7 separate regions of the Homo sapiens genome follow, and all the other regions are linked to region 1. Evidence: promoter capture Hi-C in 16 types of primary human blood cells and fetal thymus (Javierre and others, 2016). All regions are on one chromosome and are shown on one strand. The core of a region is centred on a gene start or on the middle of the fragment in contact, and the rest is flanking DNA. Distances in the headings are between cores, read along the strand shown. Region 1 holds the start of POLQ (DNA polymerase theta). Region 2 overlaps ROPN1 (rhophilin associated tail protein 1). Region 3 overlaps MYLK (myosin light chain kinase). Region 4 overlaps MYLK-AS1 (MYLK antisense RNA 1). Region 5 holds the start of TIMMDC1 (translocase of inner mitochondrial membrane domain containing 1). Region 6 overlaps HACD2 (3-hydroxyacyl-CoA dehydratase 2). Region 7 overlaps HACD2 (3-hydroxyacyl-CoA dehydratase 2).

Region 1 (4,025 bases), core at 781-3,280:
TTGGGGGCTATATTAGAACATCTAAATATTTTCTCTGAATAGTATTTATTATGTGCCGGCACTATTCTAAGTACTTTACACATATTGACTTACTCAGTCCTCAAAATAACCAAATAGGTTGTTACAATTATTATCTCTATCATACAGATGAGGACATGGAGGCACAAAAGGGTTACGCTGTAATCCCAGCACTTTGGGAGGCGGAGGTGGACGGGTCATTTGAGGTCAGGAGTTCGAGACCAGCTTGACCAACATGGTGAAACCCTGTCTGTACTAAAAATACAAAAATTAGCCAGGTGTGGTGGTGCAGGCCTGTAATCCCAGCTACTTGGGAGGCTGAGGCAGGAGAAACGCTTGAACCTGGGAGGCAGAGGTTGCAGTCAGCAGAGATCAAGCCACTGCACTCCAGCCTGGGCGACAGAGTGGGACACTCCGTCTCAAAACAAACAAACAAACAAAAAATGGGTTAAGCAAGTTGCCCAAGATCTCACAGCTACTAAGTTTCAAACCTAGACTGACTGACTCCAGAGTTGCACTGTTAACCCTTAAGTTACACTGCATCTGAGAAAGTTCTTTCTTGGCTGCAATCTAGGGGTCTCTCTCTCTTTTTTTTTTTTTTCTTTTTTTGAGACGGAGTCTTTCTTTGTCGCACAGGTTGGAGTGCAGTGGTGCGATCTCGGCTCACTACAACCACCGCCTCCCAGGTTCAAGCAATTCTCCCGCCTCAGCCTCCAGAGTAGCTGGGATTACAGGCACCCGCCATCATACCCGGCTAATTTTTTGTATTTTTGTAGAGACGGGGTTTCACCATGTTGGCCAGGCTGGTCTAGAGCTCCTGACCTCAGGTGATGCACTCATCTCGGCCTCCCAAAGTGCTGGGATTACAGGCGTGAGCCACCACGGCCGGCGAGATCTCTTTTATTTCTTTAATAGTACTCTTCATTTCTGCCCAAGCATATGGCACACTTCATTAACTGACTTGTTTAATGTCTGCCTTATTCTCTAGACTCTTTCTCTTTGAGAGCAGGAACCATTTTATGCCATTTCACTGCCATTTACCCAGTGGCTAGCTTACAGTAGATACTCAGTAAATAGTTGTTGATTGCGTAAAAGGCCAAGAGAAAAATGTTTCATTCACGGAGTAATGTCGCCATCTCGTGGAACTTTAGAATATTGTCATTTAAATCAAAAAAATGTTTTCACGGAAGGAATTGATGGTTCGAATGCTATTTTCCAGATTGTATTCGAGTGTTTTTTTTTTTTTTAATTGGACTGGACCTTTTGAGATTTTTAGTGCTCTAGAACTGCACAGCCTCTTCAGGTCAGGCTTAGGGCCTACTAGTTTTGCTTGGTGAAATGAATTATGCAACTAGGTAATGAATGGTCACCGTTTTACGTTCAGAACTCGTTCGCTTCTACCTTTACAAAAGGGACAACACAGATGCATTACTAAGCTCTTGGCTCATAACGATCCCTGGGGTATATTCAGAGCCCCTTCCTCGCGGCGTTCATATAGTGTCTCAGGGGTCTGTCAGCCAGCAATCCCCAATTCCTCATTACATATTCCTCACAATGCATGCTGGCTAAAATGGAAATTGTGTTCAGAAATAGCCCTGCCCTACCATCATATACTAGGAGAAAGGAGGAAATTATGCTCTATTAGAAACCCTAGGCTATCTTGCATAATGCTTCTCAATCTGAAATAATTTTTTACAGAATACCAATACGTTAAGAAGAGCTACTTCCCTGATCTACCTATTATGGGCAGCCCATTTTATGAAGTTAGCATGGCCTTCCTATTCAAACCAGAAATGGACAAAAGGAGAAGGAAGGCTTTTAGGTCAGTATGGTTATAACTGTAGATTCTGTATTCTTCCTCTTTAATCTATCTCTCATATTAACCAACCAGGAGGTTGGAGGCCGGAAGTCTTAGACGCCAGCGAGAGCCGCTCCTTCCCCACGAGTCTATGGCTTTCGGGTTACTTAAGCCACGGAGAACTCTATGGTTCCGGGGCGGGCCGGGAGGTTTGAGTTTGAAGACTGGCGGGAAGATGTCCGCAGCTGTTGCCAGGCCAGGGTTCTCCCGAGAGGGAGGACGCTGGGACTGTGGCTTGCCCTGATCGGCCGAGAAGAGTTTGCCATGAATCTTCTGCGTCGGAGTGGGAAACGGCGGCGTTCAGAATCAGGCTCAGATTCGTTCTCGGGAAGCGGCGGTGACAGCAGTGCCAGCCCCCAGTTCCTCTCCGGGTCCGTGCTGAGCCCGCCGCCCGGCCTTGGTCGCTGCCTGAAGGCCGCAGCTGCAGGTGCTCCAGGAACCCGGGAGGCCGCGGGCAACGGGGGCAGCTCCGCCGGGCCATGGGTCGGGAGGTGTCCTCACCCCACGGGACTTGCTTCGTTGCATACCCCATTGGGCTTCTACTCCCCTTCTCTGTGACTGGGGCCTGGTGTGGCAGGTCACTTTCTGTTCAGACATACGCGTGTTTTCAGTGATCGCCTGGTATTAATGTTCACGTGGCTTCTGGATCTTTCGACCTTTAGAGAAACAACTTCCTAGTTAGCTTCATCCCATCATCTGTTGGGCGGCTCGTTCCTGGTAGTACCCAGTACTCCTTACAGACCCTTAAGACAGGATTGTTGGGCCTGGAGTACGGCACAGGCTGTTCGGCGTCCAGGGGAAGGCTGGAAGGGATTCGTAATGAGATTGGTTGGGTGTCCCGTGGATGTCGACCCAGTTTTTTAAAATCGTTAGTTGTGCAGTCGTCATGGAACTAAAACTTACTATAAATAGAAACTCACCTAACTTAGCTTTGTAATGCTTGCATATTGCCCTCCTCCCCCAACTACACCCGTAATTCCAACACTCTTTATCTACTGTGTATTGCACGCTTTTTTGTTCGTTTGAGGCTTTTAAGGAATTTTTATTATATGCAGTAAATAACAATTTATTACTTTTCTATACATGGTCAATTTCTCATAAGATTCTTGAAGTCAGGATGTGCTTTAAAGAGCTTCATTTCAACACATAGGAATTCCAACACACGGTGAAGGGCTAACTGTAAAACTCATATATTAGAAGTAAATTAAATTTTAATTTTTTCTTTTTCCTAAAAGGAGAATGCAAGCCTACAGTTCCTGACTACGAAAGAGACAAGCTACTATTGGCAAACTGGGGACTTCCTAAAGCAGTTCTGGAAAAATACCACAGTTTTGGTGTAAAAAAGATGTTTGAATGGCAGGCAGAGTGCCTTTTGCTTGGACAAGTCCTGGAAGGAAAGAATTTAGTTTATTCAGGTATCCAAATTTATGTAAACTAATTACTATTTTTAAGATATGAATGTAAAGAATACTCTATTGAGGTAGTTGTGGTTCGTTTAAAAGGTGAATGAGGCAGTGCTTTATAACTAGAGAAAATCGTACAATATGTGTGAAAAGTGGAGTTTTATTTATATTTAAATTACAAAAGTTTTATTGTTTGACTGGGGTGGAGGGAAGCAAGAAAAATGACAATTTAAAGAGTGGGCAATTCTGCCTGCCATTATTCTCAACAAACATATATCCCAGTGAGTGTGCAATGGGAGATGTAAATCTGCCCTTCCCCTGTTTGATCCTGGTTGCTTTTCAGGGTATGAGCATTATCATTACATGTTTGTTAATTTACCTTTTTTTTTTCTTGAGATAGAGTTTGTCTCCAGGCTGGAGTGCAGTGGCGCTATGTGGGCTTACTGCAACTTCCACCTCCCAGGTTCAAGTGATTCTCCTGCCTCAGCCTCCCAAGTAGCTGGAATTACAGGTGTGCGCCACCAGGCCCAGCTACTTTTTTGTATTTTTAGTAGAGATGGGATTTCACTGTGTTGGCCAGACTGGTCTTGAGCTTCTGACAAGTGATCTGCCTACCTTAGCCTCCCAAAGTGCTGGGATTATAGGTGTGAGTCACCGTGCCCAGCTATAGATTGACCTGTTTGTACAGGGTTGTATATACAAACAACAAGTAATATACTTTATATAAAATTTTTATGGGTTTTCTT
Region 2 (4,025 bases), core at 430-2,929, 2.4 Mb before region 1:
ACCTGAGACAGGGAGACTAGTCAGGAGGCTGCACAATAGGTGATAAGGGGCTGAGCCAGAGACACAGGAGTAGAAATAGAAAGGGATTAATTGAAGACACATTTCAAAGGAAATAGTGGGATTTAGTGAGATTCAGCAGACTGAAGAAAATGGATGACTCTCAGACTTTGAGGCCAAAGGACTGAGAGATTAGTGGTATCATGTTCAGAGAAGAACCTGGGAGAGAGATTTAGTTGGGAGATGGACAATGGATTCTAGTGAAGTGTCCTGGAGGCAATGGGAAGTATGAAATAGAAGCACAAGGCGAGAGGTCAAAGATGGGAAAACAAGTGCAATCCACACAGTTTTGTCGTAGATAAAGCCGTGAAGAGGCTGCGAGCTCTCCAAGAAGAGCAACAGAAAGAATGCTGAAGACCTGAGTTGGGGGAAGATTGCTAACTCTTCCTCAGAGCAAGGAAGGAGGAAGAGGAATTATGGAAGGAGGCAAAGGAGCAATGCTGAGGAAAATAGACACACAAGAATGGCGTATGCTATCAAAGGAAGAGAAAGTCTCAAGAAGGAAAGAATTGTCATGTCTAGCAGGCCACCTCCCATGTCAGACTATGTGTATTCAAATCCTGCCTCTGTCACTTATTATATGTCATTGCAAAAGTTCTGTTATCTTTTCTAGTTTCATTATCTGTGAAATAATGCTAATATATTCTACCCCATAGGGATATTTTGAGGATTACTTGAGAAAAATGTATGGTCCTGTACTTAGCACAGTACTGGTCCTGTTATGAGTGCACCTGGCACTTACAATAAATTAATAGATATAATTGATAACTTTTAAGGGAAAAATAGAATGATGAGAAGAGAAAAAAAAACTGCAAGAGGTTAAAGAAGGACCAACCCCTGAGAAAGACAATGGGTATGGAAAACTTACAAGAGATTCCTTGCCCCAAAATGAAAAGAGCTTGCAGACCAATTGTTAGAAACAGCAATGGGATGAAGTAAAGGCTTTACTTAAGTTTGCTCTATACTGACTAAGGGTTAACATTGTTACTGTTGTCATGGAAGCTTCCTTAATTAGGATTGGGGCATCTTTTCGTTTACACGAGATTATCTGAGACTCCAGGAGAGAAATTAAACAATTGCACAACCAAAAGATCCTGTCAAAATACATGGACACAGAAAATGGTGCAGCCGCTGTGGAAAACAGTGTGGCAGTTCCTCAAAAAATTAAAATACAATTACCATATGATCCATCCATTCCACTTCTGGGTATATATACCCAACACAATTTAAAGCAAGGACTTGAACACATATTTGTATACCTATGTTCATAGCAGCATTATTCACAATAGCTAAAATGTGGAAATGATCCGACTGTCCATTGACCTATGAATGGATAAAATTGTGGTACATCTAGCAAAATAGTATTCAGCCTTAAGAACAAGGAAATTCTCAGCTTGGGGCCAGTGGTGCAATGGGTAACACATCTGACTATGGATCCAAAAAAAAGGAAATTCTGACACATGCTACCACATGAATGAACCTGAAGACATTGTGCTAAGCGAAATAAACCACACACAAAGGGACAAATATTATATGCCATATGATTTTATATGATAGTCAAATTCATGAAGATAGAAGAATGGTGGTTGCCAGGAGCTGTGGGGAAGGAGAATAGGGAGTTAGTACTTAATGGGTACAGAGTTTCAGCTAGTGAAGATGAAAAAGTTCTGGAGATGGCTGGTGGTGATTGTGGCACAACAATGTGAATGTACTTAATGACACTGAACTGTACATTTAAAATGGTAAATTGTATGTATTTTTAACACAGTAAAAGAATATATATATGTGCAGACAACATGAGCAAATAAGGCACTGCTCTTTGATAGATAAAATGGGTTGAAAAGTCATCAGAAACAACTTATAAGAGTAACTTTTTAAATGATGAAATATTTCATACTGACAAAATTAAATACATGATGTAAGTAGAAGTATAAAAATAATGAAACAAGCATCTAGACAGCAACCATCCAGCTTAAAACATAGAGCATTACTAATAGTACTGAGACCCTTGTTGTATTTCCCTAATAACATCCCTCTCCATCCTCTCCCTCCTCCACCAGGGGTAACCACCATTCTGAATTTGTATTTATCATTCCTTACTCTTTATTATAATATTATAACATATATATGTCACCAGAAACAATATATTGCTTTTCCACCTAGCATGGTGAGACTCCTCCATGGTGATGTCTGTGGCATACTCATTGAGAATTGTTGTTATTGTCTTAACAATTGAAGCTTTTTATCATTTTATCAAAAACAATTGAAGCTTTCGTCACTCTTTTTTCCTAATAGTGCATTTTGCCTTAAAGTATCTTTTGTCTGGCATGAGTATGTCTACCTTAACTTTTATTGGTTATTCTTTGCTTATTTATACTCTTTTCACCTTGAGTCTTTCTGTGTCTTCATTTTTTCAGGTGTACCTATACCTGTATTTTAACTGGCACATTTAAGCCCATTTATTTTTATTGTGATTACTGATATGTATGCATTATTTTCTACCATGTTATTTGTCTACTTTTCCTGTTTTTACCCCTCCTTTCTTGCCTTCTTTTTGACTGATGAAGGGTTTTGTTTGTTTGCTTGTTTGTGTTTTTAAAAAATTCCTTTTTTCCTCTCTACAGATTTAGTGGTTACATTACTGTTATAACTTTTCTAACACTTTGCAAAGTCTAAAATTAATCATTATTTTATCCTCTTTTTCCTCCAAATAAAAGAACATAAATAAAGTAAAAGGTCATGAAGTCCCACCAACCTAAGACCACTTTAGTTTCTTGTCTTGGGATTTCCCAGCCATGCTGGTGTTGGCATAAATTGAAAACTTAGAACTAGTCTGTGGCTACCAACTCCTGGGGGACTGTTTCTCTCCTGACTAGAAGCAGCAATGGAGACAGGTTTCTTTGTTGCTTACCCCTGCCTGTAGGCGGATATTTTCAGCCACACCTTTTCACGCTGAGGGTGTAGTCCCTGGGCGGGTCTCAAGTTTAGGTCAGAAGGGGAGTCCTTTAGTCCAGACATTTGCCTTTTGTGAGCCTAATCCTTGGTCTCTATCCACCCTGCCTAGCAATTTATCTCAAAGCTGCAAGTTCCTGCCATCTACATGTGCCCAGGTGAGCCCTAGTTTCTTCATTTGCCCAGCACTGCGGGTTCCCCTTTACTCACCTCATTGGCCACTGGAAGATTTCTCTCACTTCACTGCAAGCCCAGCAAGGCAATGTGAAAGGCTTGTACTGAGATTTGTCTGGCCTCTAGGTGTTTTGAAGAGGGACAGCTTTTTAGCATATCTAGTCTGTCCCTTTCTCTACTAAAAGCAGAAAAAAATCTTTTGATCTGTTGTTTATTTGTGGAGGGAATTGTATACACTTTATGGATTTTCATATTTTGTTTCAATTTGTCCTGGAACTTTTTGAGAGAAAATGTACGAATTTTCCACCTGACAATTAGAGTGGAAAAGAACATGCAGCTGTAAAGAGAGACGCTCACCAAATGGCTGTTTAATGACTATTTTTATGTGGAAATGGCCTAATGTCAATTCACAGAGGGTTCAGAGTAAATTTTGCTACAATTCTTACCCAACTAATAAGTGCTGGACGACATGGAAAGATGTTCATGATATACTTTTGAGTAAATAAGCTGTTTTGTATAATCTTATTTTTTTATTTTACAAACATATATATACTGAAAAATTCTGGATTTTGGGGGGTGATATCATTATTTTGGGGCGATATCATTAGGGAATTTTTTGCTGACCTCCACTTTTTAAATGAACAAGGGCTGTGTAATTTTTATGTAAAGGACATAACTATTTCCAACAAAAAGTAGGGGTTAGCAGATGGTTTTCTAACCTTGGCGTTGTGTAATAATAGAATGCATTTGTCTTGCAGAGTCCCCAAAATTGAGTGTCAAACAGAGGCTGGGTGACCTCCTGTCCAGGATTGCTCTCATCGTATGAATCGAAGTTTTCATCT
Region 3 (4,025 bases), core at 784-3,283, 2.2 Mb before region 1:
TGCCATGGGAGCATGCATTCCCTGAATGGATGAGAGCACAGAGGTTGCCGAACCTCCCCTGCAGTGCAGGGAGGCATTCCCTAGAATTCCTCGCTTTTCTGGGGGCTCAGTGCCCATTAGGGTGTGCAGGAAATCTGCAAATTACCTTCAAGAGTCCCTCAACAGGGCTAGGCACAGTGTCTCATGCCTGTAATCCCAGCACTTTGGGAGGCCAAGGCAGGTGGATCTCTTGAGCCGAGGAGTTCGAGACCACCTTGGGCAACACGGCAACACACCGTCTCCACAAAAAACACAAAAATTAGCCGGGAGTGGTGGCCCATGCCTCTAGTCCCAGCTACTCAGGAGGCTGAGGCAGGAGGATTGCTTGAGCCTGCGAGGTCGAGACTGCAGTTGCAGTGAGCCGTAATCACACCACTGGACTCCAGCCTGGATGACAGAGCAAGACCCTGTCTCAAAAAAAAAAAAAAAAAAAAAAAAAAAAAAAAAAGAGTCCCTCAACAAATATTCCTTCTTTCCCCAACACAGGCTAGGGAAAAAAAATTCCCCAATAGTTAACCAAGCAATGAATGTCTTTCCTCCTGACCCAGGATGAGTCCTGATCCAGGATGATTAATTCAAATTCCTGCAGAGCCCAGGAATATCTGAAATACAGTATATATTTCACAGCGTTTGGACTGAGTCATTGCTGGGGGCTTCCTTGGGCTAGAATATTTAAAATTTTTTCCCCCTGGAGTATCTCCATCAAGGCTAAAATTCTTAAGTGTCTAGATTTATTAATAGCCTGCCAGTTGTGCCCATTTGACATAGTTTCTCAGCCTAACGGTTTGTTTATTTAACTGAAGGCCTAGTGGGCCTGTTTAAGGCATCTAAGGACATAAAATGTGGGTAGGTTAAAAAGATGAAAAGATCATCTCTAGAATAGATAATAAAATATAACAAGCATATTTATTAGAGTATTTGTTTTGATGCAGAGCTTCTAATGAAGACAACAGGCATCAGTGAAGTCAGCGTTTGCTTGGCAATGAGTAGAGGCACAGTTTGTTTTCAGATTAATACCAGGCACTCTGCGGGGCAGCCTGGAGCCACCTCCTTTGTCTTCCCTGGTTATGCACAGGTACTTTGGACACTATACAATCTATCCAGTTAACATAACGTATGGATCCTGACCTCCTCAAGCTTAAAAACACTGACAACTTCTTAAATACTTACATTGGCTACAGAAAAATATATTGAAGAAGAATAAATACCAGTTTTAACTTGCCTTTTTTATATATATTAAGAAGCTTAGTTTATTCAAAACATCTGTCCACAAGCCTTTAAACTGTAAGAAGGCAAGCAATTAATTACATGTTAAAATTTATAACCAATATTTTCATTTTATGTAGGTTGAGTACAGAATTGGGTTTGTGTACCACATGGGTTCTTTGTGTTACAGAAAGACTTCTGAGCATATACATGTACGTTTGTGCCCATGCCATAGAATTTGAGCCTCATTTTACTAATAGGGCCATTATAGAGCTTTATAACTCTCCACCTCTACAGCCCATAGTCAGTCATAATTACATAGAGACCCAGATCAAGAATGCTATCCAGAATCGCAGGATTGAGCTCCTAGTGGCAAAATGTGACCCATGTGATGACAGTGTAACTGAGAGTGTGGCTTCCAGGCCCGCACTGGGAGGGAACAGTGGGTGGTTTGGATGCCATACCTTTATGTTTAGAGTGTGATTATAGCTTCTAAGACAGTGGAAAGGCTGTGGTTTCAGTGATCCTTGCTTCCCAGCTAGCAACCCTATCATTACTGGTCAGAGATCTTTTTTGGGATATTATACGTCATTGTTCCTTTCATTCTTTTCCTCGCACACTTCTCTTCCCATTTGCTTCTTAAGTTCTGGGAGGAAGGGAGGCCAAAAGAAAACAAGGCTATGGGAGGAAAAATCCTTTTAATGCCACAAAGTAGCCATTTTGCTGACTTCAAGAAGGTTCTGTTTGGTTAGGAGACAGACTTTTGTTTAAGGGGAATTCAGATGCCCCGGGGATTTACAGCTTGCACAAACCCCCTGGAAATGGGAAGGGGCTGTGTGGCGTGTCAGCAGGGAGAATGTAACTCTTCTTTGATGAATCCTCCAGAGTTAACAATCCTGGAATTTAGGGAAAGGAGGAGGCTGGTGGTGATCCCTGGACCATGCTGGATTTTGAACTCCAAATAAAGAAAGATGGGGGCACTGTGCTTCCATGGTGCCCCCTCAATTGGTGATCTGTTGAATTTCCATAGTATAACAGGGTTTGGAGTGAATCAGAATTGCTGTTGGAATGGCATTTTGCATTGTAATAACTAAGGAATACAGCTCATGTTCAAAGCCTAAGGAAAATATTTGGTAGATCCAAGATTAAGGCAAACATGTGTTGAATGCAAATTTGGATCCAGGACCTTGGGGCTTCAGAAAGTAGCAAGTTGACCAGCAAATGTTGGCAGGTAGAAAAACACACTTATAAGGAGAAATTCAGAATTTAGTTGTTTTTCCTACTAAAACAACGGAAAGAAAAGGAAGGGCTGTGAAGGGAAGACAGGAGAATTATTGTAGTGCAGAAGGAGATGGCAGATCCTGGTCAGCCACCAGGACAAAGGCAACAGTGGGTTCCTAGTGTCAGGTCCTAGAGGAGGTAAAGGCCTCACTCCTGGTGCTGGGTTTGAAGAAGAGGCTTTACTGGTTATTTTATAAGAAGAATTAGTGCAAGAGGTAGCAAACTGCTCCTAACTCTTCCTCTAAATAAAAGCTTTCCAAAACGCCATGTTGGGTATCAATTTATATTAGGTTTTTAAAGTAAAACCACTATCAATTTGTTTTTAAGAAGGAATTGTTTGATAGGAAAGTCTAATTGGCTAGAAAAGCTGGCTTGTTTTATTTAATTCTCACAACAACTCCACTTGACACTTCCGAATTCACTTTACAGATGAAGAAAGTGATGCTCAGGAGGTGATGTCAGCTGCCCACAGTAGTCCAGGTGATCAGCAGCAGCACCAGGCCACCACCTGCTTCAGCCCATGGGCTTTCTGCATGGCTGCTCTTGGATCCTGATAGGTCATTTGTTTGATGCTTTTGCTTCACCAGAGCGATCATTTCATGTTTAGTTTCATGACTAGGAACTGGCTTCAAAAACAACTTCTAGTGAGTCAAAAACAGCCAAAATGGCAAGGACGGAAAAACTCCATGGGTCAGTAGAATCATAAAGGGGAGAGTGCGTATATCTGTCTGTCTCTCATTCTCTCCCCCTTCCTTTGCTTCCCTTTTCCCCCTCTCTCTTCCTCACATTGCCTCTTTTTCTTTCTCTTCTCTCTGTTCTTCCCTTTCTCCATTCTTGCTCTTTCTTAAGTCCTATTAACAGCTTCGTCTACATGGCATCGTTTTTACTTGTCAGCAATCTGCTTGGGCTTATTCTTAGTCATTGTGCTTGTCTTTCCCATTGGACGACAGCCCGATCAATCCTTTTCCATTCTGTCAAAATGGGACAGTGGCAGTTTAATGACTGAGTCCAGGAGTGAATTGGCTAATACCAAGTAACAGAGCAACAGATAAATGCACTTTAGATCCTTAATCCTAGGCAAGGAAAGCAAGGAGACTCAGCCCTTTCTGCACTCCAGAAAGAAGGCCCTCTCTGGGCTCAGTCTCAGCAGAGCAGCAGGAAGCACAGCTGTGGGGAAACCCGGGGTATATTTAGTTTGGCCCCATTTGAGCTGGGCAAGTCTGTCACTGGGTCTCAGCAAAGCATCCCTTGCTATTTGTGTGCCATGGCCAGTGGGTGTCCTCCCAAGACGAAGAAGTCTTGGGCTCTCTGAGACAACCTTGTCACTGGGGGCCTCTTGCCTCAGACCCTGGTCCTTAAACCAGGATGATGCTAGAAGGAGGCCAAGGACAAGCAGAGAGGAGTGACTCCCAGGGTAATGGGTAGCTCTGGACATGAATATGGATGATGACAGAAAGCTCCTCACAGAATTGAGACCTGCCTCTGCTCCCAGGACAGTC
Region 4 (4,025 bases), core at 451-2,950, 2.1 Mb before region 1:
CAAACACCTATACCTAATTGTTAAAAAATGGGATCTTACTACATGCCATGTATAATCCACTTTTTTACTTAGCATATTCTAAACAACGTCCATGTCAAATACATTTATGCAATATTATTTTCCCAAACTTTCTCTTAAAACTTTTTCAAAACCAGGCATGGTGGCTCATGCCTATAATCCCAGCACTTTGAGAGGCTGAGGCTTGAGCCCAGGCATTCGAGGCTGCAGTGAGCTGTGATCATGCCACTGTACTCTAACCTGGGCAACAGAGAAAGACCCTGTCTCTAAGAAATGGGAAATAAAAAATAAAAACTTTTTCAAACTGAGAAAAAAAATTGACAGTTGCATCTAATGCCCTTCACATACAGTCAATGTTAGAAGAAGATTTACCCTGAACATCTCACTTTTCTGCATGGCTCAGGTCCTCTGATCGAAGGCAATTGCAAACAATTCAAGAATACTTATATAAGGAGACATCTCAGGATAGTAAAGCGTAGACATGTTTACCTCCCTGGAGATGGTCCAGGATAGTAAAGATAAAGAACTCTTCTTCCTCCCTTCCTGGACAAGACTTGCTTACATTCCAGAGTAAACTAAGGTTTCTCTCTCTCTGGAGAGGATGATGGGCAGGTCTCTGGCAGTTATATAGAAGATCAGAGTTTCCTAATTTTTACAGGGCTCCTGTCCTGTAATGCACCCCGCTGCATGTGCAGGTACCATCTCGCCCTCATGATGACCCTTGGAAACCAACATAGGATGTTGCTTGGGCTGCTGCTTTTGCTACAAATGATTAATTGTTTTTGTTTTTGACTCAGAAGCCTCATTTAAAAGTAAGTTTCTGCAAAACCATTTTTAATGGCTGAATATACTATTTTAAGCTTCCATCATAATTTAGTCAGTCTATACTGCTGGACATTTAGATTGTTTCCAACAGTTTGGAAATATTCTTATTGTAAATAGCATTGTGATGAATGAACTTTTATAACTAAATCTTTTTTCACATCCTAAATTCTTTCTTTAGGATAAATTCCAATGGCTGGGTGCAGTGGCGTGTGCCTGTAGTCCCAGTTATCGGAAGGCTGAGGTGAGAGAATCACTTGAGCCCAGGAGTTTGAAGCCAACTTGGGCAATAGAGCAATATCCTATCTCTAAAACAGATAAAAATAAAAAAGTTCCAAGAAGTGTAATTGTTGGGTCAAAGGACACGCATAATTTTAAAGTTTCAGTATATATTTATGTATTTCCAAGCTGTCTTCCAGAAAGTCTATCAATTTATACTTTCAATAGCAAAGTGTAAGAGCACAACTGTTCTTATACGCCTGCCAACAGGGTTACTGACATTTTGAGTAAGAAAAGAAAAAGAAGAAGACATCTATCTCATTGTTTTAATCAGTGTTTATTCATAAACGTGATTGAACTTCATTAGTGTGTTCATTAACTATTTGTAGGGAGACTATGGCCTGCAGCTGATCACAGCATCATCAAATACTAAGGCAACTATCACACAGCCTCTCACATGTGTCTCTTCTCTCCCCACATCTGCTGAGGGCTCAGTTCTTCCAAGTTCAGATTCTCAAAGAGATGAATCTGATATAGCCATTTCATATTAGGTTGTATCACCAGCCAGTCTAAGGCACCGCTAACTGGAAGTTTAGGGTGGAATTTAGAGTCTGATTCCTATCACCCATCCCTCTTTTCCTCCAGGGTTTTGCATGACAGAAAAACTAGATCACCAGCCAAACAAGAATCCAAATGTCAGCTGTCTTTTTTTTTTTTTGAGATGGGATCTTGCTCTGTTGCCTGCCCAGGTTGGAGTGCTGTGGTGCTATCACCATCCACTGCAACTTCAATCTCCCCAGCTCAAGCCATCCTCCTGCCTCAGCCTCTCAAGTAGCTGGGACTATAGACATGCACCACTACATCCAGCTAATATTTCTATGTTTTGTAGAGGCAAAGTCTTACTATGTTGCCCAGGCTGGCCTCAAACTTCTGAGCTCATGTGATCCTCCTGCCTTGGCCTCCCAAAGTGCTAGGATTACACCATGCCCGGCCCAAATGTCAGTTGTCTTCGTGGTTGGTCAGGCACCCAAAAACATACCCTTGAAGAGTTCTCTGATGCTGGCCAGTTTGGAGACAGCAGCAGGGTCACATCTCACCTTCCTGAATTGAAGATAGCTTCCTGGCCTGGCAGGACTGATCAGAATTCCACCCCAGTTCCCACTGCCAATCACAGGCAGAAAAACTAGAAAAGAGAAAGAGTGGTGCACTGCAAAGCAGAAGGAAGAGAAAGCCTGGCTGCCTTTCAGTTCAGTGACTGTGCAGAATCCCTTGTCTCCAAGTAAAAGCATGGCCCTGTGAATTTCACAGATCTTAACTGATCCTATTAATCTTTTCTCCTCGCTGTGAATAGGCAGAAGCCAGATATGTTTATTTCTAATATTCCTTGTGATAGGAGTTTTTCATTTTTGGCCTCCTAGTATCTAACACTTCCTATTTGGAAAAAAATCCAATAAAGAAGCTTAAGTATGGACAAATAGCCCCTTTTCCAGATCCCTTGTCTCTAGAATTTGGGCACAGGACCTTCCAATCAGACACTCCTACCTAAGACCTTGATTCTGGAGTAACAGAAAGAAGCAAATGGCACTTAGAATCTTTCCAGAGGTGGAAGAGGAAGCAATAAGGGTACTGTCCAACGTCTGATGGTGGTTGTGCCAATGACAGACGCAGTTGGATACTAACCAGATGCTTCCTGTGTATTGATTTGGTCTCTATTTCGGGCTGCCTAATTTCCCATGGCTCCTTTCCAAGTTCCAAGCCTCATTCTTCAGCTTTTCCATCAATTTTGTGAGCTATGTAATGTCCTTTCAATAAATTCATTTTCTCTCTAACTAACCGAGAGTTAGTCTCCATTATTTAGGAACCTCGAAATTTGGTTAGTACATATGTCTTTTTGTACCTTTTCTATGAAGACAAAAAGATAAGAAAGAGGGGTGCCCACCTCCAGTTCAGAAGTATCCACTATCCTGACTTTTGTGATAAACATTTCATGATTTTGCTTTATAGTCTTGGCATCTATGTATGTAGTCAGGGGAATGAGAATAATATGGTAGAAAATATGGCCCCTGTCTGTCAATCTCTTCCCTGAAAGAGATGGCAGTGACTCCAGTCTCTAACATTCTTATTATGTCCAGATTAACTATACGATAGCTTCCTAGATGACAATCCTGGTGCAAACCATCCTATTTCCTACTATCAGGATTCCTCTCTGCTTTTAATTTATTATAAATTTCTTATGCATATTTAACGTATAAGATGTATCTAACATATAAACTATATGTAAGTTATGAGCATAAAAATGAACACTCATGAATCCACACCTAACTTAAGAACATTACCAACAATGGTGAAGCTACCCGTGCACTTTTCCTGGATGTCATACCTCTGCCACTCCTTGTGCTGATCATTCCTTTGTTTAAAACAATTATGAAATATAACTGACATAAATATACACGTTGATGAAACATCATGAAAGGAAAACCTACAGAACCATACCAATGTGAGGAAATGAAACATTTCCTACTCCCAGAACCCCTCCTCATACCCTCTCCCAGTCCCTGCTCTTTGTCTCCTCTTGGTCATAAACTCCTCTCTCTTCATCAGAGGTATCCACTATCCTGACTTTTGTGATAATCATTTTCTTGGCTTTTCTATACAGTTTTACCACCTGTGTCTGTATCCCTAAACAACATCATTTCATTTGGCCTCATTTTGAACTTTAGATGAATGGATCATACTGTGTATATTCTTTTGTGCCTTACTTCTGTCATTCAATATTTTGTTTATGAGATTCATCCATGTTGTTGAGTAGAACTGCAATTTGTTCATTTGCATTGCTGTAATGTATCCCATCATAGGAATGTACCATGATGTATTTATTTATTTTACTGTGGATAGACGTTTTGTTGTATTCAGTGTGGGGTATGATGAACAATGCTGCTTTGAATATCCTGATGCATGTATCCTAG
Region 5 (4,025 bases), core at 554-3,053, 2.0 Mb after region 1:
ATTTTTCGAAATGCATTTCCTACTCCAATAAAAAGTTTTTTAAAAGGTGCTTTTGATGACTATTACACCCCTAGAAATAGGAAGAATTTGTGAGTTGGATAGAGAGACCAATATTTCCGTTTAAATCTTAAGTTAACTTTTAGAAATCACACCAACTCGTGAGATTTTAGGGCAATGTATGAAAGAATAAAAACGTGGATGTAAGACAAAAAATCTAAATTCTATTTTACTAAATAATTTCATGAAATACTCAGATAGGACTGTACTAATAAAAGCACTGGGCTGGGCACAGTAGCACACGCCTGTAGTCACAGCTAACTTAGGAGGCTGAGGTAGGACTTGAGCCCGAGTTCAAATCCAGCATAGCAACATAGCAAAGATCCTGGCTCTAAAAATAAACAAATAAATGTTTTTTTAAAAACGCACTGGGAAAGTTCACTATGCAGTGGGTGGCACATGCCAATCTAAAATAACAAGGAAAAACTACTATTTAATTCGATTTGTTACTCTCAAATGCATAAGAAGCTAGAACTGCTAATGAAGCTTCCAAGATGTCATCCTGAGACTGCTCTAACAAATAGCTGTCTTAAGTATTAAGTTACTATAAAATAATTGCCCTTCTAGGCCGGGCGCAGTCCAGCCGCGGTGGCTCAGGCCTGTAATCCCAGCACTTTGGGAGGCGGAAACAGGCAGATCACGTGAGGTCAGGAGTTCCAGACCAGCCTGGCGAATGGTGAAATCCTGTCTCTACTAAAAATACAAAAATTAGCTGGGCATGGTAGTGGGCAACTGTAATCCCAGCTACTCTGGAGGCTGAGGCAGGAGAACCGCTTGAACCTGGGAAGTGAAGAGTGCAGTGAGCCAAGATCGCACCACTGCACTCCAGCCTGGGCGATAGAGCGCGACTCAGTCTCGAAAAAAAAAAAAAAAAGAAAGAAAAATACGAGTTTGGGCTGGCGCGGTGGCTCACGCCTGTAATCCCAGCACTTTGGGAGGCCGAGGTAGGCGGATCGCCTAAGTCCAAGAGTTCAAGACCAGCCTAGGCAACATGGTAAGAACCCTGTCTATAAAAAATACATTAAAAAAAAATTAGCCGGGCGTGGTGGTGCGCGCCTGTAGTCCCAATTAATCGGGAGGCTGAGGTGGGAGGATCACTTGAGTCCCAGAGGCAGAGGTTGCAGTGAGCCGAGATAGCACCACAGCACTCCAGCCTGGGCGACAGAGCAAGACCCTGTCTGGAAAAAAAAAAAAAAAAAAGAAAGAAAAAAGATACAAGCTTGGGTTACAAATATCAGAACCTCAAATATAATCTAAAAATGAAGCACACCATCCTTGGTGTCCTAAGGCTGACCCAGGCTGCCCACGCTGCAGGACACCGCTTTCGCGGCCCCCTACCCCACTTCACACCCTAGGCACTTTTACTCTTTGCCAAACAGCTCCCGGAGGCGGTCCCATCCAGATTCCGGGTAATAGGGCTCTGGGACGTAGGGAAGCCGCTTCTGACGCTCCTCAAGGACTTCCGAATCGGCAGTCACAGCTTCGGCAGCAAAGACTCGGGGAAATAGGCACAATGCTCTACAGAGAAAGCTCCGCGGTGCCGGTGGCGGCACCTCCATGGCCTTCTCTCGACCTACGGACAAACTTGAGCGCTCAGGACTTCAAGTCCTCGCGGACGTGCCGCGGGAGAGCGTAACTGTACGAGGTGAGAATCCGTGCATTTGACCCAGGTTAACCCTCTGCCAGAGGGCTCGACACCCACACCTTCAGTCCCCGGCCTCGCTTTGGAGTCCTTGGAAATACGACACAGGAAGTCCCGCCCGACCGGGGCAAAGGCCAGGGGGCGGGGCGACGGCGAAGCCGGAGCCCAAAAGACTTCCGGTTGAGGGCGGGTTGGGCCACTGCTGTGCTGAGTGCACCCCCGGAAGTGAGTTGGCTGCCAGTAGTGAAGCTCAGCGTGGTCCCGGCAGGCCTTCGCTCCGTGTTTGTGGTTCCTGGGTCATGCAAACGGTGTCTGCGGCTACTTATATTCAGCTTGAGGTGGTCATAGGTTGAAGTAATTTATCGTATTTAAAATGCCAGGAATTAGCCGGGCATGGTGGCGGGCGCCTGTAATCCTAGCTACTCGGGAGGCTGAGGTAGGAGAATCGCTTGAACCCGGGAGGCGGAGGTTGCAGTGAGCCGAGATCACACCACTGCACTGCAGCCTGGGCAACAAGAGCGAAAATCTGTCTCAAAAAAAAAAAAAAAAGGCAGGAATCCCGCTTCAGTAAGGAAGAAAGTGCAATATTCAGTGCAAGTGGAGTAGGGAAAGAGGGAAAGGCGATTTGTGCAAAAACAAGTCCAACCTACTCTGCCAACATTAGAGAAGCCTTCCAGGCTGGGCGGGGTCCGTTTGTACCTTGTCAGTTCTGCTGGAAAAAAAACGAGGCATTGGGGATGGGTGTTGGTGCCAGTTACACTAAGATTTCGAGAACACTTTTTTGAAGAATCAGCTTTTTGGCAGGTCTTCCTAAGGTGGATTTCACTCCCTTTAGTTCATATGCCTACTGCTTCTCAAAAGGCAGGAGAATTTCTGGAATTTCTATCAAGTGTTTGTATAATTTGCCGTCACTACAACCTCTGCTAACATATGCTTCGAAGTACAGTTTTCATTAAAATGAATGCATTTAAAATATTCTCAATATTCGTGTAATTTCATTCAATCCTTGTTAACAAGCATACTCCCTTATTCATTTTGCCAATCCCTTCACCTCCTTGATTCCTTTCTAGTTGTCAATCAAAACTGCCACACTGTAGTAGAATACAGTAAGTGGACTTAGGAATTTGATAGCTGGAAATGCTACACATAAGTCCCTGAGAAGTGACTGACTAGAGTGACCAGCTCAATTAGTGACAGCGCCATGAAGACTACTCTGGGATATGAGATTTGATTCAGCACTCATCGTAGCACTTACAACACTGCATCATAATTTCCTATTAATCTGTCTCAATAAACTATCCTTGAGATCACAGACCAAATATATTCATCTCTGTATCTCCAGGACCTAGAACCGCAGTAGGTGCTCAGTAAATATTTGTTGAATAATTCAGATCTCCTGACTTCTGGCTCTGGATTACTGCTTATCCCATGTTAGGTAGAAGTGGGCACCAAGATAAGTTACCAAGGCCTGAAAGCCCAAGAAAATGGCTGTACAGTCTGTTTCTAACCTATATGTAGAAAAAGCTAAATGCATAAGATGACCCCAGAATTATTCTGGGGTGAAGGAGGACTTGAAATGGGTAGGAGGGTTTGGGTGGGTGTTGGGAAGATACTGACACAATCACTTATGTACAACTCAAATGCCCCAGGATTCACTAGCCTGTAGATGAGGTAATATTAACAGGCAAATTTTAAATTCCATAACTTGTTTCTCATTTGGGTAACGGAAGACTCATTTGTAATGTTCCTTTTGCCACCTGATAACTCAAAAAACTCCCCTCTCCTTTGGCTACTGCTCGCACTGTTGCTGCTCTTCCATCTGAGCCCTCCCACATTTCCTACTTCCCCAATCCCTTACGGCTTACCTTCTTTTAGAACAAGGGAAATGCTCACCCTCCTCTGTAGTCTGCTTATTTTATTTTATTTTTGATACAGTCTTAGCTTCGTCACCCAGGCTGGAGGGCAGTGGCAAGACCTCGGCTCACTGCAACCTCTGCCTCCTAAGTTCAAGTGATTCTTGTGCCTCAGCCTCCTGAGTAGCTGGGATTACAGGCATGTGCCACAAGCCTGGCTAATTTTTGTATTTTTAGTAAAGATGGTGTTTCACCATGTTGGCCAGGATGGTCTCAAACTTCTGGCCCCAAGTGATCTGCCTGCCTCAGCCTCCCAAAGTGCTGGGATTACAGGTGTGAGCCACCAAGCCCAGCCCTGTAGGCTGTAGTCTGCTCTTTTTGAAGGTTCTCCGATCAATACAGTCTAAGCCAGAGGTGTCCAATCTTTTGGCTTCCCTGGGCCACATTGGAAGAATAATTGTCTTGGCCCACAC
Region 6 (4,025 bases), core at 1,093-3,592, 2.0 Mb before region 1:
AGAGGGATGGGGATAGCTTTGGGCACACAAAATCAATAGCCGCCATAGTTCGTATATTTCATTATGGTGAAAAACCTTCAGATTGCAGGGAAGATCTGGTTCATTTTGCTTAGCCTCCAGGCAAGACCATCATAACATTTATACTTTACTGGCAACTTTTAAAACCTGAACTATGGAATGATACTTAAGAAAAAATCATTTATCTCGCTGGGCACGGTGGCTCACGCCTGTAATCCCAGCACTCTGGGAGGCCGAGGCGGGTGGATCACGAGGTCAGGAGATTGAGACCGTCCTGGCTAACACAGTGAAACCCCGTCTCTACTAAAAATACAAAAATTAGCCGGGTGTGGTGGCACGGGCGTGTGGTCCCAGCTACTGGGAGGCAAGGTTGCAGTGAGCTGAGATCACGCCACTGTACTCCAGCCTGGGCAACAGAACGAGACTCTGTCTCAAAAAAAAAAAAAAAAAAAATTCTTTATCTCATGAAATGAAGTGTGATACCTCTACCTTTCATTCTCAATTTTTTTTTTTTTCTTGAGACAGGGTCTTGTTCTGTCGCCCAGGCTGGAGTGCAGTGGTGCCATCATGGCCGTGGCTCACTGCAGCCTTGAACTCCTGGGACCAAGCAGTCCTCCCACCTCAGCTTGCAGAGTAGCTGGGCCCACAGGCTTGCACCACCATACATGGATAATTTTTAAAACTTCATAGAGACAGGGTCTCCCTGTGTTGCCCAGGCTGGTCTCAAACTCCTTGGCTCAAGCAATCTTCCCATCTCAGCCTCCCAAAGCACTGAGATTACAGGCGTGAACCACTGCACCCAGCCCACTCTCACTTTATTTATTTATTTTTTTGAGAGAGGGTCACTCTGTCACCCAGGCTGAAGTGCAGTGGTGTGATCACTGCTCACTGCAGCCTTGACTTCCCAGGCCCCAGCCATCCTCCCACCTCATCCTCCCAAGTAGCTGGGACCACAGGCGTGCACTACCGTGCCTGGCTCATTTTTATATTTTTGGTAGAGGTGAGGTTTGGCTGTGTTTCCCAGGCTGGATTCACTCTCACGTTCTAGATCAGAAAGTTATCCATTTTGCTTTTGTTTTTTTCTCTTAGAAGGCAGAGGAATTTCTTTTTTTCTTTCTTTCTTTTTTCTTTTTTTTTTTTGACACAGGGCCTTACTCTGTTGCCCAGGCAGGAGTGCAGTGGTGGGATCTCGGCTCACTGCAACACAGAGGAATTTCAATAGTGTCCAAACTTAGGCATTTTAAGTAGGTGGTATGATGAAATGAGCTTCCAGCTGGAAGCCTGAGTACCTTTTTATTTTAAGTATAATAGTTTTCCCAACTGACTCTATAGATTTGGGCAAGTCTTTTCTCTCGTATCCACCTCCTTTTCATTTGTAAATAATTAGGTTAAAGTAGATTTCTAAAGTCCCTTACTACCCTAAATTTGAGTGTGAGGAAATTTTAACAAATCCTAATGTGAACCATTTTTTAAACTTAGAGGCTTGAACTTTTTTTGGAAGCGGACACTAGTAAATAAGTAGTACTTTCTCTTTCAGAACCTTGGCCAGTACAGTTCCCACAAGCTACAGAGAAGCAAATTTGGAGTCAAGACCATCAGACTTCCAGTACTTGATATAGTAGGGGGTTGTCCCCATTTGGAATACTTCAATAATTTAAAGGGGTTTCTATCTCTTTAAGACATCATAATATTAGAGCTGAGCACAGTGGCTCATGCTTATAGTCCCAGCAATCCCAGAGCTTTGGGAGGCCAAGGCAGGAGGATCACTTGAGGGCAAGAGTTCGAGACCAGCTTGAGCAACATAGCAAGACCTCATCTCTACAAAAAAAAAATTTTTTTTTTTTTAGCTGGGCTGGGTGGTGGGTACCTGTAGTCCCAGCTACTTGGGAGGCTGAAATGGGAGGCTTGAGCTTGAACCCAGGAGTTTGAGGCTGCAGCGAACTATGATTGCATCACTGCAATCCAGCCTGGATGACAGAGTGAGACCTTGTCTCAAAAAAAAAAAAACTTGGTAATGTTAGAAGTATAATTTTTAAAATTTAAGTATATCTTATGGAAGGTAGGGACATTAAACAGTGTCATACTTTAAAATCCACTCAGGAACCAAGTCTTAGACTTTGAAGGATTAGCCTGTTTATCCTTATAGAATTTTTAATAGGGATTTAGGAAAATATCTTGGATTTTTGGTTTTATCTCTGTTATCCCCACTAAGAACCAATTAAGTGACAAATCCTGGATTTGATTTTGGGAAAATGTCTGTGCATAAGGAAGTGAAGACTCCCAGGAACATGCAGGCAATTAACGTTGCAAAGGTCAGTGATGGAAGTAATCCCTTGGACTGGGCGATAGAGCAGGCTTGCTAAAACCACAATTTCTGTGGTTGAGGAGTTTTTCATTGCCTACCCCATCTACACTGTGTAATAATTAGATGTGTGTGGTATTGTTTAATTACACATAAGTTATCCTGATGGGAATTATTAGTGTTGACATATATCCTGTTTACAGGAGGAGAAAATGAATCCAGGGAAGGCAGCTACTCATTTATATCTCTTTATGCTAAATGTTATTCTTTATTAGGTTCTGTGGGAGTTTACTTAAAAAGGAAATCGAAATTACTTGTTCTCCAATTTCACATCTTCTTAAGAAAATAATAACACTTTGCTTTTTAAAAGACATAAAAACATTTACCAAGCAAGTACAAAGGAGCATGTAGTAGCAAGGTACAAAAGGAAGCCTGGCTGAGTACCATGGCTCACACCTGTAATCCCAGCACTTTAGGAGGCTGACATGGGGGGATTGCTTGAGGCCAGAAATTCAAGACCATCCTGGGAAACATAGCGAGACCCCATCTCTACAAAAAATTAAAAAATTGGCCAGGCATGGTAGCACATGCCTGTAGTCCCAGCTAATCAGGAGACTGAGGTGGGAGGATCACTTGTGCCCAGGAGTTCAAGGCTACAGTGAGCCATGATCGTGCCACTGCACTCCAGCCTGGGTGACAGAGCAAGACCCCATTTCCAAAAAAAAAAGTATCTATAAATAAAATGCTACTCATGGATAAAATGTGGTCTATGGATATAAACATTCATAAAATTAATAAAGGCAAATGAATTACTGATATATGCCTGGATAAATCTTGAAAAAATGCATGTGAAAGGAGGCAGATACAAAAAGTCACAAATAGTATGATTTCATTTATAAGAAATATCCAGAATAGGCAAATCCATAGTGACAGAAAGTAGAGGAATTGTTAGGGGCTGTGGGGAGAGAGAGTGGGGTGTGACTGCTAATGGTACAGGATTTCCTTTTAAGGTGATGATATTGTTCTTGAAATAGTGGTGGTGGGTGCACAACTCTGTGAACATATTAAAAACCACTAGATTGTACAGTTTAAAATTGTGAATTTTGTGGCATGTGAATTATATGTCAGTTTTTAAAAAACGAGTTCCTCTGTAATGAGTTGTGGGTGTTTTCTACTTTATTCATTTTTGGAGTCCATGATATTCATTGATGAGGCAGATGTTATCTTTGCATATTTGTCAAGTATAGTTAGATTAAAAATTAGTGGACTAATGCAGTTATGGCAGTTTAAAATTATGTTTGAGAGAATTTGGGTTTCTAAATATCTTTGGTTAACATAAGACTGTAATTATAGCAAAGACACTTTCTTTTTTTTTTTTTTTTTTGAGACAGAGTCTCACTCCATCGCCCAGGCTGGAGTGCAGTGGCGCGATCTCGGCTCACTGCAAGCTCCGCCTCCCGGGTTCACGCCATTCTCCTGCCTCAGCTTCCCGAGTAGCTGGGACTACAGGCGCCCGCCACCACACCCGGCTAATTTTTTGTATTTTTAGTAGAGACGGGGTTTCACCATGTTAGCCAGGATGGTCTCGATCTCCTGACCTCATGATCCGCCAGCCTCGGCCTCCCAAATTGCTGGGATTACAAGTGTGAGCCACTGCGCCCGGCCAAAGACACTTTCAAATACTCATGATTGGATATGCCTCTGT
Region 7 (4,025 bases), core at 941-3,440, 2.0 Mb before region 1:
GTGATATGTCATTTTTATAGTTCAGTTTCCTTTTCTTGGGAGAGGATTTTTTTTCTCTTCATTCACTGTAAACATCTTTCCATTAATTTTTAAAAATATGCTATTTTTTTAGAGCAGTTTTAGGTTCACAGCAAAATTGAGAGGAAGGTACAGACATGTCCCATAGGCCCCCTTCCTCCACGCATGCATAGTCTCCCATTATCAACATCCCCAACCAGAGTAGTACATTTGTTACAATTGATTAATGTACATTGACACATCATTTTTGTCCAAAGCCCATAGTTCACTCTTAGCATTGTACAATCGTTGGGTTTGGACAAATTTATAATGACATATATCTAATATTATACTGTCATACAGAGTGTTTTCACTCCCACTCTGGGGCTTGTCTTAAAAATCTTCTGTACTCTACCTGTTTATCCCCCAGAGCCCTGGAAGCCATTGATCTTTCCACTGTCTCCATGGTTTTGCCTTTTCCAGAATGTCATACAGTATGCAGCCTTTTCAGACCGACTTCTTTGACTTAGTAATATGTGTTTAAGTTTTCTCCATGTCTTTTCATGGCTTGATAGCCCATTTCATTTTAGCACTGAATAATACCCCGTTGTCTGGATGTACCACAATTTACCCATTCTCCTAGTAAAGTACATCTTGGTTGCTACCAGGTTTTGCCAATTGTGAATAAAGCTGCTATGGACATTTGTGTGCAGGTTTTTGTGCAGATGCAAGTTTTCAAATCCTTTGGATAAATACCAAAGAGCATGATTGCTAGATTATATGCTAAGGGTATGTTTAGTTTTGTAAGAATCTGCCAAACAGTCTTCTAAAGTGTCTGTACCGTTTTGCTTTCCCAAGAGTAATGAATGAGAGTTTCTTATTCCACATCCTCTGCTGCGTTTGGTATTGTCAGTGCTCTGGATTTTGACCCTTCTAATAGGTGTGTAGTGGTGTATTGATTATACATGACGTAGAGCATCTTTTAATATGCTTATTTGCATCTGTAGGTCCTCTTTGATGAGGTGTTTTTTGTTGTTTATTTTTTTGAGACAGTCTCACTCTGTCATCCAGGCTGGAGTGCAGTGGAGCAATCATAGCTCACTGTAGCCTTGAACTCCTGGGCTCAAGTGATCCTCCTGCCCCAGCCTCCCAAGTAGCTGGGACTACAGGTGTGAGCCACCATGCCCAGCTAATTTTTTTAATTTTTTGTACAGATGGGATCTTGCTATCTTTCTCAAGCTGGTCTTGGCCTCAAGTGACCCTCCCACCTCAGCCTGGTAAAGTATCTTTTAAGGCAGCGGTCCACAACCTCTTTGGCACCAGGGACTGGTTTCGTGAAAGACATTTTTTCCATGGACTGGGGATAAGGGGAGGGGGTGGTTTTGGGATGAAATTGTTTCACTTCAGATCATCAGGCATTAGATTCTCATAAGGAGCACTCAACCTAGGTCCCTTGAATGCACAGTTGACACTAGGGTTCATGCTCCTATGAGAATCTAACACTGCTGCTGATCTGACAGGAGGTGGAGCTCAGGCAGTGATACTCACTCACCTGCTGCTCTCCTGCTGCGCAGCCCAGGGACTGGGGACCCCTGTTTTAGGGTCTTTTTAAGTTTAGGATAACAGTCCTTTGTCAAATATTATCTTTTGCAAATATTTTCTCCTGGTCTGAGGCTTGTCTTTTTATTCCCTTTACAGTATCTTTTGCGGAGCAGAAATTTTTAATTTTAGTCAAGTCCAGTTTGCCAGTTTGTTGGACTTCAGACATTCTAATAGGCGTGTAGTGGTAGTTGTTGTTTTAATTTTTATTTCTCTAATGACAAATGCTATGGCACATCTTTTCATATGCTCATTTGTCATCTTTTGGGGCAAGGTGTCTATTCAGGTCTTTGCTCATTTTTCAGTTGGATTGTTTTTTTGTTGAGATTTAAGAATTCTTTCTATATTTTGGATACAAATTCTTTATCAGACAGGTGTTCAGCAAATATTTTCTCTTGCTCTGGGGCTTGTCTTTTGATTCTTTTAATAGTGTCTTTGAGGAAGCACAGATTTTTAAATTTAATAATGTACAACTTAACCAGTTTTCCCTTTCATGGATTGTGCTTTGGTATTGTGTCTGAAAACTTGTTACTATAGATATCTCGATTACCCTGATTTGATCTTTACATATTACATGAATATGTCAAAATATCACATGTACCCTGAAAATATGCACATCTATTGTATATCATTTTTTTTTTTTTTTTGAGACGGAGTCTTGCTCTGTCACCCAGGCTGGAGTGCAGTGTCATGGTCATGGCTCGCTGCAGCCTTGATCTGCAGGGCTCAGGTGATCCTCCCACCTCAGCTTCCCAAGCAGCTGGGACTACAGGCGTGCACCACCACACTTGGCTAGTTTTTGTGCTTTTTGTAGAGATGGGACTTCTCCGTGTTGCCAGGGATGGTCTTGAACTCCTGGGGTCAATAGATCTGCCTGCCTTGGCCTCCCAAAGTGCTGGAATTACAGGCATGAGCCACTTCACCCGGCCTCAATTTATTTTTTAGAGATGGGGTCTTGCTGTGTTGCCCACACCAGTCTCAAATTCCTGGCCTCAGGTGATCCTCCCGCCTCAGTCTGTGATCCATTTTGAGTTAATTTTTGTGAAAGGTGTCAGGTCTGTGTCTAGTTTTATTTATTTATTTTTTTACATATAGTCATCCAGTTGTTCGGCACGATTTGTTGAAAAGTCTATTCTTTCTCCATTGCGTTGTCTTTATGCCATTGTCAAAGATCAGTTATTGCTGGATCTATTTCTGGCCCCTCTGTTCTATTGATGTATATGTTTATTATTTTGCCAATACCAGGATTACCTTGATTATAAGTCTTAAAATCTGGTAGTAGAAGTCCTCTAACTTTATTCCTTCTTTTTTCAGTATTGTATGGGTCTTTTGCCTTTCCATATGAACTTTGGAATCTTTTTGTCAACATCTACAAAATAGCTTCCTGGGATTTTGAGTGGGATTGTGTTGAATCTATAGAGCAAGTCGGGAATAATTGACACCTTAACAATATTGACTCTTTCAATCCACAGACATATAATATTTCTCCACTTATTTAGATCTTTGATTTCTTTTATCATTGTTTTGCAGTTTTTCACATAGCAATTCTCTGTTTTGTTAGAGTTATATGTGTTTTTATTTGGTGTTAGTATAAATGATTTTTTTTTAACTTTAAAATTTTGGTGGTTCATTGCTGGTACAGAGAAAGGCAATTGACCTTCATATATTGATCTTATATCCTGTGACCTTGCTATACTTGCTTATTAGTTCTAGGATTTTGTGTGTGTGTGTGTTTGTAGATTCTTTGAGATCTTCTATATAGATAATCATATCATCTTTGAACAAAGACAGTTTTATTTCTTGCTTTTCAGTTTATTTACCTTTTATTTCTTTTTCTTGTCTTACTGCACTGGCTAAGACTTCCAGTATGACATTCTTCATATTCTTTACTCAATAAGATAAAATTATTCCTAGCTCAGTTTTCTCCCCAACCAATTTTGAAGGCATATACACTTTCTACTTCATTTTTACTATCAGGGTATAAAATTCAATGTCTATTTTTTTAAGTTCTTCTGTATCCTTACTTATTTTTTTGTCTGCTTGACCTGTCTTGCACTTAGAATGATAATGTTGTTAACATCTCTAAGTATTAATGTGTTTCTAATTTTCCTTGCATCTTCTATAGCAATTGCTTTAGCAAAAGTTGTTGCTATGTTATTTGATGCATAAATATTTATAACTGTTATTTCTTCATTGTCAGTTGTGACTTTAGCATTTAAAAAAGTCTGTCAGATTTAATGCTTTTTTGTCTTAAATCTTACTTTATCGGAATCAAAATCATGACCCTCTACTTTCTTTTGTTTCCATTTGCCTGATATGCCCTTGTGCATTCTTTTATTTTGTGTCCCTTAATCAATCACTTTAATATTAGCATAGAGTTGGGTTTTGTTTTGTGAGCCAGTTTGAAAATCTTTCATATAATAGGTGAG

Evidence for each region. Contacts are between HindIII fragments. The CHiCAGO score rates a contact against its expected background, and 5 or more counts as called.
Region 2: a contact is called between a fragment that was not itself captured here and the fragment with the promoter of POLQ in region 1, in 2 of 17 cell types (naive CD8 T cells and activated CD4 T cells). The highest score is 6.0, in naive CD8 T cells.
Region 3: a fragment that was not itself captured here is called in contact with the fragment with the promoter of POLQ in region 1 in 3 of 17 cell types (fetal thymus, total CD4 T cells and naive B cells); the score reaches 9.6 in fetal thymus.
Region 4: a fragment that was not itself captured here is called in contact with the fragment with the promoter of POLQ in region 1 in 4 of 17 cell types (activated CD4 T cells, naive CD8 T cells, monocytes and 1 more); the score reaches 6.9 in activated CD4 T cells.
Region 5: the fragment with the promoter of TIMMDC1 here is called in contact with the fragment with the promoter of POLQ in region 1 in 1 of 17 cell types (fetal thymus); the score reaches 7.7 in fetal thymus.
Region 6: a fragment that was not itself captured here is called in contact with the fragment with the promoter of POLQ in region 1 in 7 of 17 cell types (activated CD4 T cells, naive B cells, non-activated CD4 T cells and 4 more); the score reaches 6.8 in activated CD4 T cells.
Region 7: a fragment that was not itself captured here is called in contact with the fragment with the promoter of POLQ in region 1 in 2 of 17 cell types (total B cells and activated CD4 T cells); the score reaches 7.3 in total B cells.

The regions. Positions count from the first base shown.
Region 1 is chr3:121,543,993-121,548,017 of GRCh38, reverse strand. POLQ (DNA polymerase theta) reads left to right here and starts at 2,030. Exons shown (of 30, transcript NM_199420.4): 1 at 2,030-2,303; 2 at 3,112-3,291. The coding sequence starts at 2,141. RefSeq lists enhancers at 1,882-2,176, 2,068-2,297. The HindIII fragment of the contact is 11,524 bases long and covers 1-4,025 here.
Region 2 is chr3:123,980,521-123,984,545 of GRCh38, reverse strand. All of the region lies in intron 1 of ROPN1 (rhophilin associated tail protein 1), which reads left to right. Among named protein-coding and RNA genes, the nearest start is that of ROPN1, 9.6 kb to the left of the region's middle. RefSeq lists an enhancer at 3,807-4,025. The HindIII fragment of the contact is 1,236 bases long and covers 1,062-2,297 here.
Region 3 is chr3:123,714,302-123,718,326 of GRCh38, reverse strand. All of the region lies in intron 13 of MYLK (myosin light chain kinase), which reads left to right. LOC105369194 (a long non-coding RNA gene) reads right to left here. Exons shown (of 3, transcript XR_924417.4): 3 at 1,927-4,025. Among named protein-coding and RNA genes, the nearest start is that of MYLK-AS2, 27 kb to the right of the region's middle. The HindIII fragment of the contact is 1,495 bases long and covers 1,286-2,780 here.
Region 4 is chr3:123,594,270-123,598,294 of GRCh38, reverse strand. The region is part of intron 2 of MYLK-AS1 (MYLK antisense RNA 1); the gene reads right to left. Among named protein-coding and RNA genes, the nearest start is that of MYLK-AS1, 11 kb to the right of the region's middle. The HindIII fragment of the contact is 1,640 bases long and covers 881-2,520 here.
Region 5 is chr3:119,496,325-119,500,349 of GRCh38, reverse strand. TIMMDC1 (translocase of inner mitochondrial membrane domain containing 1) reads right to left here and starts at 1,803. Exons shown (of 7, transcript NM_016589.4): 1 at 1,423-1,803. The coding sequence starts at 1,616. RefSeq lists an enhancer at 2,014-2,063. The HindIII fragment of the contact is 2,873 bases long and covers 1,279-4,025 here.
Region 6 is chr3:123,577,300-123,581,324 of GRCh38, reverse strand. All of the region lies in intron 2 of HACD2 (3-hydroxyacyl-CoA dehydratase 2), which reads left to right. Among named protein-coding and RNA genes, the nearest start is that of HACD2, 5.7 kb to the left of the region's middle. The HindIII fragment of the contact is 5,964 bases long and covers 1-4,025 here.
Region 7 is chr3:123,554,655-123,558,679 of GRCh38, reverse strand. The region is part of intron 3 of HACD2 (3-hydroxyacyl-CoA dehydratase 2); the gene reads left to right. Among named protein-coding and RNA genes, the nearest start is that of HACD2, 28 kb to the left of the region's middle. The HindIII fragment of the contact is 4,418 bases long and covers 1-4,025 here.